Linked DNA regions of Homo sapiens: region 2 is linked to region 1. The links are contacts of gene promoters, found by promoter capture Hi-C in human tissues and cell types (Jung and others, 2019). All regions are on one chromosome and are shown on one strand. The core of a region is centred on a gene start or on the middle of the fragment in contact, and the rest is flanking DNA. Distances in the headings are between cores, read along the strand shown.

What was found. The method cuts DNA at HindIII sites, captures the fragments that hold promoters and counts their contacts. A contact is called where the count stands out against the background at its distance.
Region 2: a fragment that was not itself captured here is called in contact with the fragment with the promoter of UPK3A in region 1 in 1 of the 25 tissues and cell types used here (bladder).

What each region holds. Positions count from the first base shown.
Region 1 is chr22:45,283,506-45,286,553 of GRCh38, reverse strand. It overlaps UPK3A (uroplakin 3A), which reads right to left and starts at 1,605. Exons shown (of 6, transcript NM_006953.4): 1 at 1,489-1,605; 2 at 458-613. The coding sequence starts at 1,540. RefSeq lists a silencer at 1,475-1,784. The HindIII fragment of the contact is 20,192 bases long and covers 1-3,048 here.
Region 2 is chr22:45,686,008-45,688,940 of GRCh38, reverse strand. The region is part of intron 1 of ATXN10 (ataxin 10); the gene reads right to left. Among named protein-coding and RNA genes, the nearest start is that of ATXN10, 16 kb to the right of the region's middle. The HindIII fragment of the contact is 3,403 bases long and covers 1-2,933 here.

The DNA.
Region 1 (3,048 bases), core at 356-2,855:
CCACAGCAGCAGGTCCAAATGCATGGTTTTGTCTCAGAAACACCAATCTTGAGCCACCTTTCGAAGCCTCAGGAAGGACCTTGGGCTTGGGGACTAGAGAGATCAGGATTCACTCTCCAGCCCTGGGAGGTCCAGGGGGGGTTATTCCACCTCTCTGAGCCTTGCTTCCCTGCTCTGTAATGGGGATTGGTAATAGCTACCTTACAAGCTGGTTGTAGATACTAGCTCTATGGTGTGCAAAGTGCCTGGTATGGTGTAGGTGTTCAGTGACTGGTGGTGTTATTACTTCCCTCACTAACTGGATGTCCCTGCAAGGCAAGGACAGGTCTGTGGCTGCAGTACCTGTTTAATGAGACGACTACAGGCATGGAGGGTTCCTCTATCTGCCTCCTTCCCTCCTCCCTGCAGACAGGTCAGAGCCCCTTTTGGAGTAGCCAGAGGGAAGCAGGACCCTTACCTGAGTCGACCAGGACATACAGGTAGACCTCGTGGGTGCCAGTGAGGGCCTCTTTGCTGTCAAACATGCAGAGAGGCTTTTCCAAGGCCACAGTGGTAAGTGTGGGGTTGTTGGTGGCGAAAGTCACACTGGCCAGTTGGGGCTGCAGGTTCACAGCTGGAGGAGGCAGTGAGGATGGGAACTGACCTCCGGCAGAACTGTCCACACCCACTCTGCTTGCAGTTACTGAGCACGTGTTGTGTGCCAGGCCCTGGGCTTCACCCTCCCCCTGGGCCACCGCATAAGCTGTCTCAGACACTGCCCCCTGCCCAGTCATCCTGCTCAGAAATGGAGCGGTCGGGCCAAACTGCTGCCTTCTCTCCCTGCTGCAGACACTCAGTTGCCAAGAACTCCACTGCCCCTCCTAAGCATCTCTCCATGCCATCGGCCCAGCCCTCCTCCGTCCCACCTTCCTCACCTGGGCCCTCCCCCCACATGCAAGTCTGACTGCCTCATTCTCTGGCTATGGCCCTCCCATGGTCCCCCAGCGCCCCCTGACGAAGTCCAGCCTCTCTGGAAAGGCAGTGAGGTCCTGAAGTTCTGGGCTTTGCTTTGTTCGGTCTCCAGCCTCACCCCTTCCCCCACAGGCTCCCCTCACCCCAGGCTCCAGCTGGTCCCATGGACTGGCAGTTCCCAGGACAGCCCAATATTGTCTCCCCTCCATGAACTTGCCCATGCTGCTTCCTCGGCCGAAATATCTCTCTATCTGCCCCCGTCCAGGCGTCACCATGGGGCTGGGGCTAGTCCCTTCTCTGTCCTACCGCAGCCCCCCTGCATGTTGGTCTCTTGCAACACACATCGCAGGGCTGCAGCCATCTGTGAGCCCTCGGATTCCCAACAGAGGAGGCCCGTAAACGTTGGCTATCACTATTATTCATAACAGTAATATCTGGGTCCCCAGCGCCAGGAATCAGGGTCCAGGCGGCGGGCGCCCCAGGGCAGAGCTGCCCGCTCTTTCTGGGCTCAGCCCCCTCCTGCCCTTCACCGCCTACCCGAGCCGAACCGCAGGCAGCCGAGGGCCAGCAGGGCCCAGAGCGGAGGCATCGCCCGGGAGGAGCCGCCAGAGCGCGGGGCGGGCGGTCCAGCGAGCAGGCGCGGGCACCAGACCTGTCCCTGCCAGGGCACCTGCCAGCTCTGGGCCCTCGGCGCGCCCCGCCCCCGCCTGGGCTGGCCAATCCGCGGCCTCCTCGCGCGCTATTTGCATACGGCCCTGCCCCGGGCTTCCCCGACCCGTGCGCGGTGCCCCAGGGCGCAATCCCACCGGGCAGGACCTTCTCCAGCCCGCATCAAAGCGCCTACTGTGTGCCCAGGCCAGGGCAGCCCTTCCACAGCGTCTCTCACCAATGGGACCTTGAGGGCAAGCCACTCCCACTTGGAGCCTCAGTTTCCATACTGTAAAATGACGCTAATTTCTACAACTATTTATGGAGGCTCTATTACGTGCCAAACACTCACTGGGCACTCGCGAAACAAAATGGGTTGACCAGTAAAGGTGATATCCTGGAAAACGAAGTCCAGGCCTGGGAGCTATCCAGAGACCCTAGTATGACGCCTAGTATGACCCCTTCGGTTCACAGGTACAAGCCAAGGCCCGGGAGGCTGGGGGGTGGGGCAGGGGGTAAGTATTGGAGCGTGGTGGGGGGCGCGGGGACAGGGACTCACCCCCGGCCGCGCTTGGTCTCCTGGAGACACTGAGGCTGGTGGAACCCAGGAGTCCAGTGCTCAGCCCAGGGCTGCCTCCAAAGGGATGGAGCAGGGTGTTAATGCCTACTTCTTAAAGGGGCGTTTGAAAATTATGATGGACTCCTCACCATGACTGTGCGGTTCCCTCCATCACAAGAATCTGTGCACATCTCTGGATGCACCTTAAATCAATTTTACATTTAAGAAATAAAAGTAAGTCAACAAGGATAGGAAAAAAACAACAGAAGAGGGGCAAGGAGGCTCATGCCTGTAATCCCAACACTTTGGGAGGTCAAGATAGGAGGATCCCTTGAGGCCAGGAGCTAGAGACCATCCTGGGCATCATAGTGAGACCCCATCTCTACCAAAAAAAAAAAAAAAAAAATTAGCTCAGCCTAGTGGGGCATGCCTGTAGTCCCAGGATTGCTTGAGCCCAGGAGGTCGAGGCTACAGTGAACTATGATCATGCCACTTTGAGCTATGATTAAAGCTGCAATAACAGAGCCAGACCCTGTCTCTTAGAAAAAAGATAAAGAAAATCAACAGAAACTAATTAATCTCTGTATGACGTTGATGACATAACCTCACTTGCAGAAAAAGAATAAAACGATCTGAGTAATTATAGAGCTGGGTTGTCCAGGGGTACCTCCTTAGTGGAGTACACTCTAAGAACTGGGAGGCCTGTGACAGAACCCCAAACCTCACTAGTGACTTTGTTATTGGCAGTGGGGAGGGCGGAGCCATTCCGAAGCAACTTTGGGTTATCCTAGGATTGGTGGTACCAGAACCCAGATTCTCACTGTAGGATGAGGGAGATTTGGAATGGAGGAAGGAAGCACATGAGGTCAGTGTGTCCCATTATTGGGGAT
Region 2 (2,933 bases), core at 147-2,646, 400 kb before region 1:
CCAGAGCTCTAAAGATAAGAATTTTTTGTGCAACATTGCACCTAAATGCAAGCCAACTTCCTCATTCCATAAATCCCCTAAAGAAACAGCAAATCTCTTTTAACGTTAGAAGGAAAGTTGCCACATTGGACAATTTAAGAGATTCTATAAATGCCAAATGATTCAGACCATATGAATTTTCTCCTTCTGCTCTCGCTGTAGATTCACAGTGCCCTACCTTTCACCCTTGGATTGAGCCAGACCAGCAGGGAGCCACATGTTCATTCAGAACTCTGGACACTGAGCTGCCCAGGTTACAGAGCTGCTCAGTTGCCGCAGAAGACACCTATGGAAGCCCCTTTTCCGGGGGCAGAGGAAACACGTCTTTCCTTGAACTTCAGTACCATGGCTTCTTATACACCAAGTGATGTGTGTTTTTATCTTACGAACAGACAATAGAACTCACATTATTTATTATGTTTTCTCTCTGTCGGGGCCTTTCTTAAGTCTGGAGTCAAATTTATGACCCAAACAACATGAATCCTTACTTTTTCTATCTGGCTTTTCCACTACCCCTAATTTCCCCCCTTATCTTTTTCTCGTATTTATTTTTTAAGGTATCTCAAACTTGGTTTTGAAAGAGGCAGAGTATAAATTAATTAAAAACTGGGAAACTGCACATAAAATAATTTGTCTATGTCTCCCCCAGTCAGCCCTGAGTGTAAATAATGAAACTTTGACTCAGTGTCTCGGCAACTGAGTGACCAAATTAAGAAATGAAAATTCAAGGGTACAGCACTAATCTTGCCTCAATAAACTGTATGAAACAAGTACATAAGCCATTTTTTAGTGACAGCATTGCCGTAAGAAGAATGGAAGAATACTCACTAACACTCTTTTTTTTGAGACGGAGTTTTGCTCTGTCGCCCAGGCTGGAGTTGCAGTGGTGCAATCTTGGCTCACTGCAACCTCTGCCTCCTGGGTTCAAGCAATTCTTCTGCCTCAGCCTCCCGAGTAGCTGGGACTACAGGCACACGCCACCACGCCCGGCTAATTTTTGTATTTTTAGTAGAGACAGGGTTTCACCATTAGCCAGGCTGGTCTCGAACTCCCGATCTCGTGATCTGCCTACCTCGGCCTCCCAAAGTGCTGGGATTACAGGTGTGAGCCACTGCACCTGGCCGATTCACTAACATTCTTAAGGTAGCTTTAAGGAGTACCAAATATATTGTAGACACTCATCAGCTAAGAAAATAACCAGGAGTTTAAAACACTATGAAGAATGCTAAGGCTGATCACAATTTCTAGGACAAAGAACAAAACTAATCACCTCTATTTGCCCCATCTGCATGAAGTTTTGAAGCCATTTATTATTTAATGCTATAGTCAAGTAAAAGTAGAGCTCTGCAACTTGAATAAGCTTCAATAACGCCTCTCTTTTCCTACTGAGATGACTAAGAATGTGTATTTACAGCTGTAAGAAAGCAGCGAGAATTATTTCTTTCACCTGATCCTTTGCCGTCTGCCTCTTATATGGGAACCACCTTTCCCCCGTGAATGGTCTTCCCTGAAGTCATTCCTTGCAATCGTAACATCTGTTTTACTCAAAATTGGTATCTAGCACAGCAAAAGCTTTGGAATCAAACTATGGTACAGACTAAACAAGACAGAAGAAAAGCAATATTCTTAAAGAAAATGGGAAAAATGATTTCCCGACCATAGAATAAATACTAAGTTCATGAACTATGTTGTGAATAATTCCCAATGCTACATGGTAATTTGTTATATATGCACCATGCCCTTATAATAATTTTAACCAAATGAAAAGCATTTAACTGAGCTAAGGCCAACCAAAACATTCCTGAAATCCAAATAACTATTAATAGCGACTAAAGAGTAATCATGACAGCATCTATTTGGCACACAATAATTCGCGTTTGCAGTATAAAGAAAAAATAATGTGGAGCTGTGATCACTGTCATATGCTCTCCCCAGGTTGTAAACCATGGATTCCTGAAAACCCCCGATTTCGCCAATCTTCTGTCTTTGCTCAAACATATCTCACCACCAGAAGAAAGTCCTCTCCAAATCTCCCAATCCTCTGCCTGGGAGAAACTTACATCTCCTTTTTTTTTTTTTTTTTGAGATGGAGTCTTGCTCTGTTGCCCAGGCTGGAGTGCAGTAGCGTGATCTCAGCTCACTGCAACCTCCACCTCCTGGGTTCAAGTGATTCTTCTGCCTCAGCCTCCTGAGTAGCTGGGACTACAGGTGCATGCCACCACGCCCGGCTAATTTTTTTGTATTTTAGTAGAGACAGGGTTTCACCATTTTGGTCAGGCTGGTCTCGGTCTCCTGACCTCGTGATCTGCCCGCCTCGGCCTCCCAGAGTGTTGGGATTACATGCGTGAGCCACTGCGCCTGGCCTGCATCTCCTTTCAAACCTTTGGGAAACTCAGACCTGGAGAAACTCCTCCACTTTTCCAGACAAACAGACTCCCTCTATGAAGCCCTGGAGATCTGTTCATAAGACTGGAATAACTTGTCCACATCAGATAAGATTTATATAACCTATCTCCCCGGCTAGACTGTTAAGTCCTTGAAAAATGGAGACTATCTTATTCTTTTCTGTATCTCTAGGGCCCAGAATTGGCACCCATTAATTGAATTTGTTCAAGTTTTAAACAGTGATGAGACTGTTTGCACACTCAAAAGTGGCCCCTGACTGCATCACAGCCTTGCTATGTAATCCAAGCACTTACAGAGCTTGTGCTCAGAGCCAGGAATCAAGCCTGACATAGGCAGTGAAATCAGTACCCTTTGAGTCAGCAACAGAAAGGGGAAAGTGAGGCATCAGCTCAACCCTCCCTTTCCCATTAAGAAATCCATATAATCTCTACTCAGAAACTTAAAAACGTGTCAGATTTTAAGATGTGAATATCATATAGATATTTTAT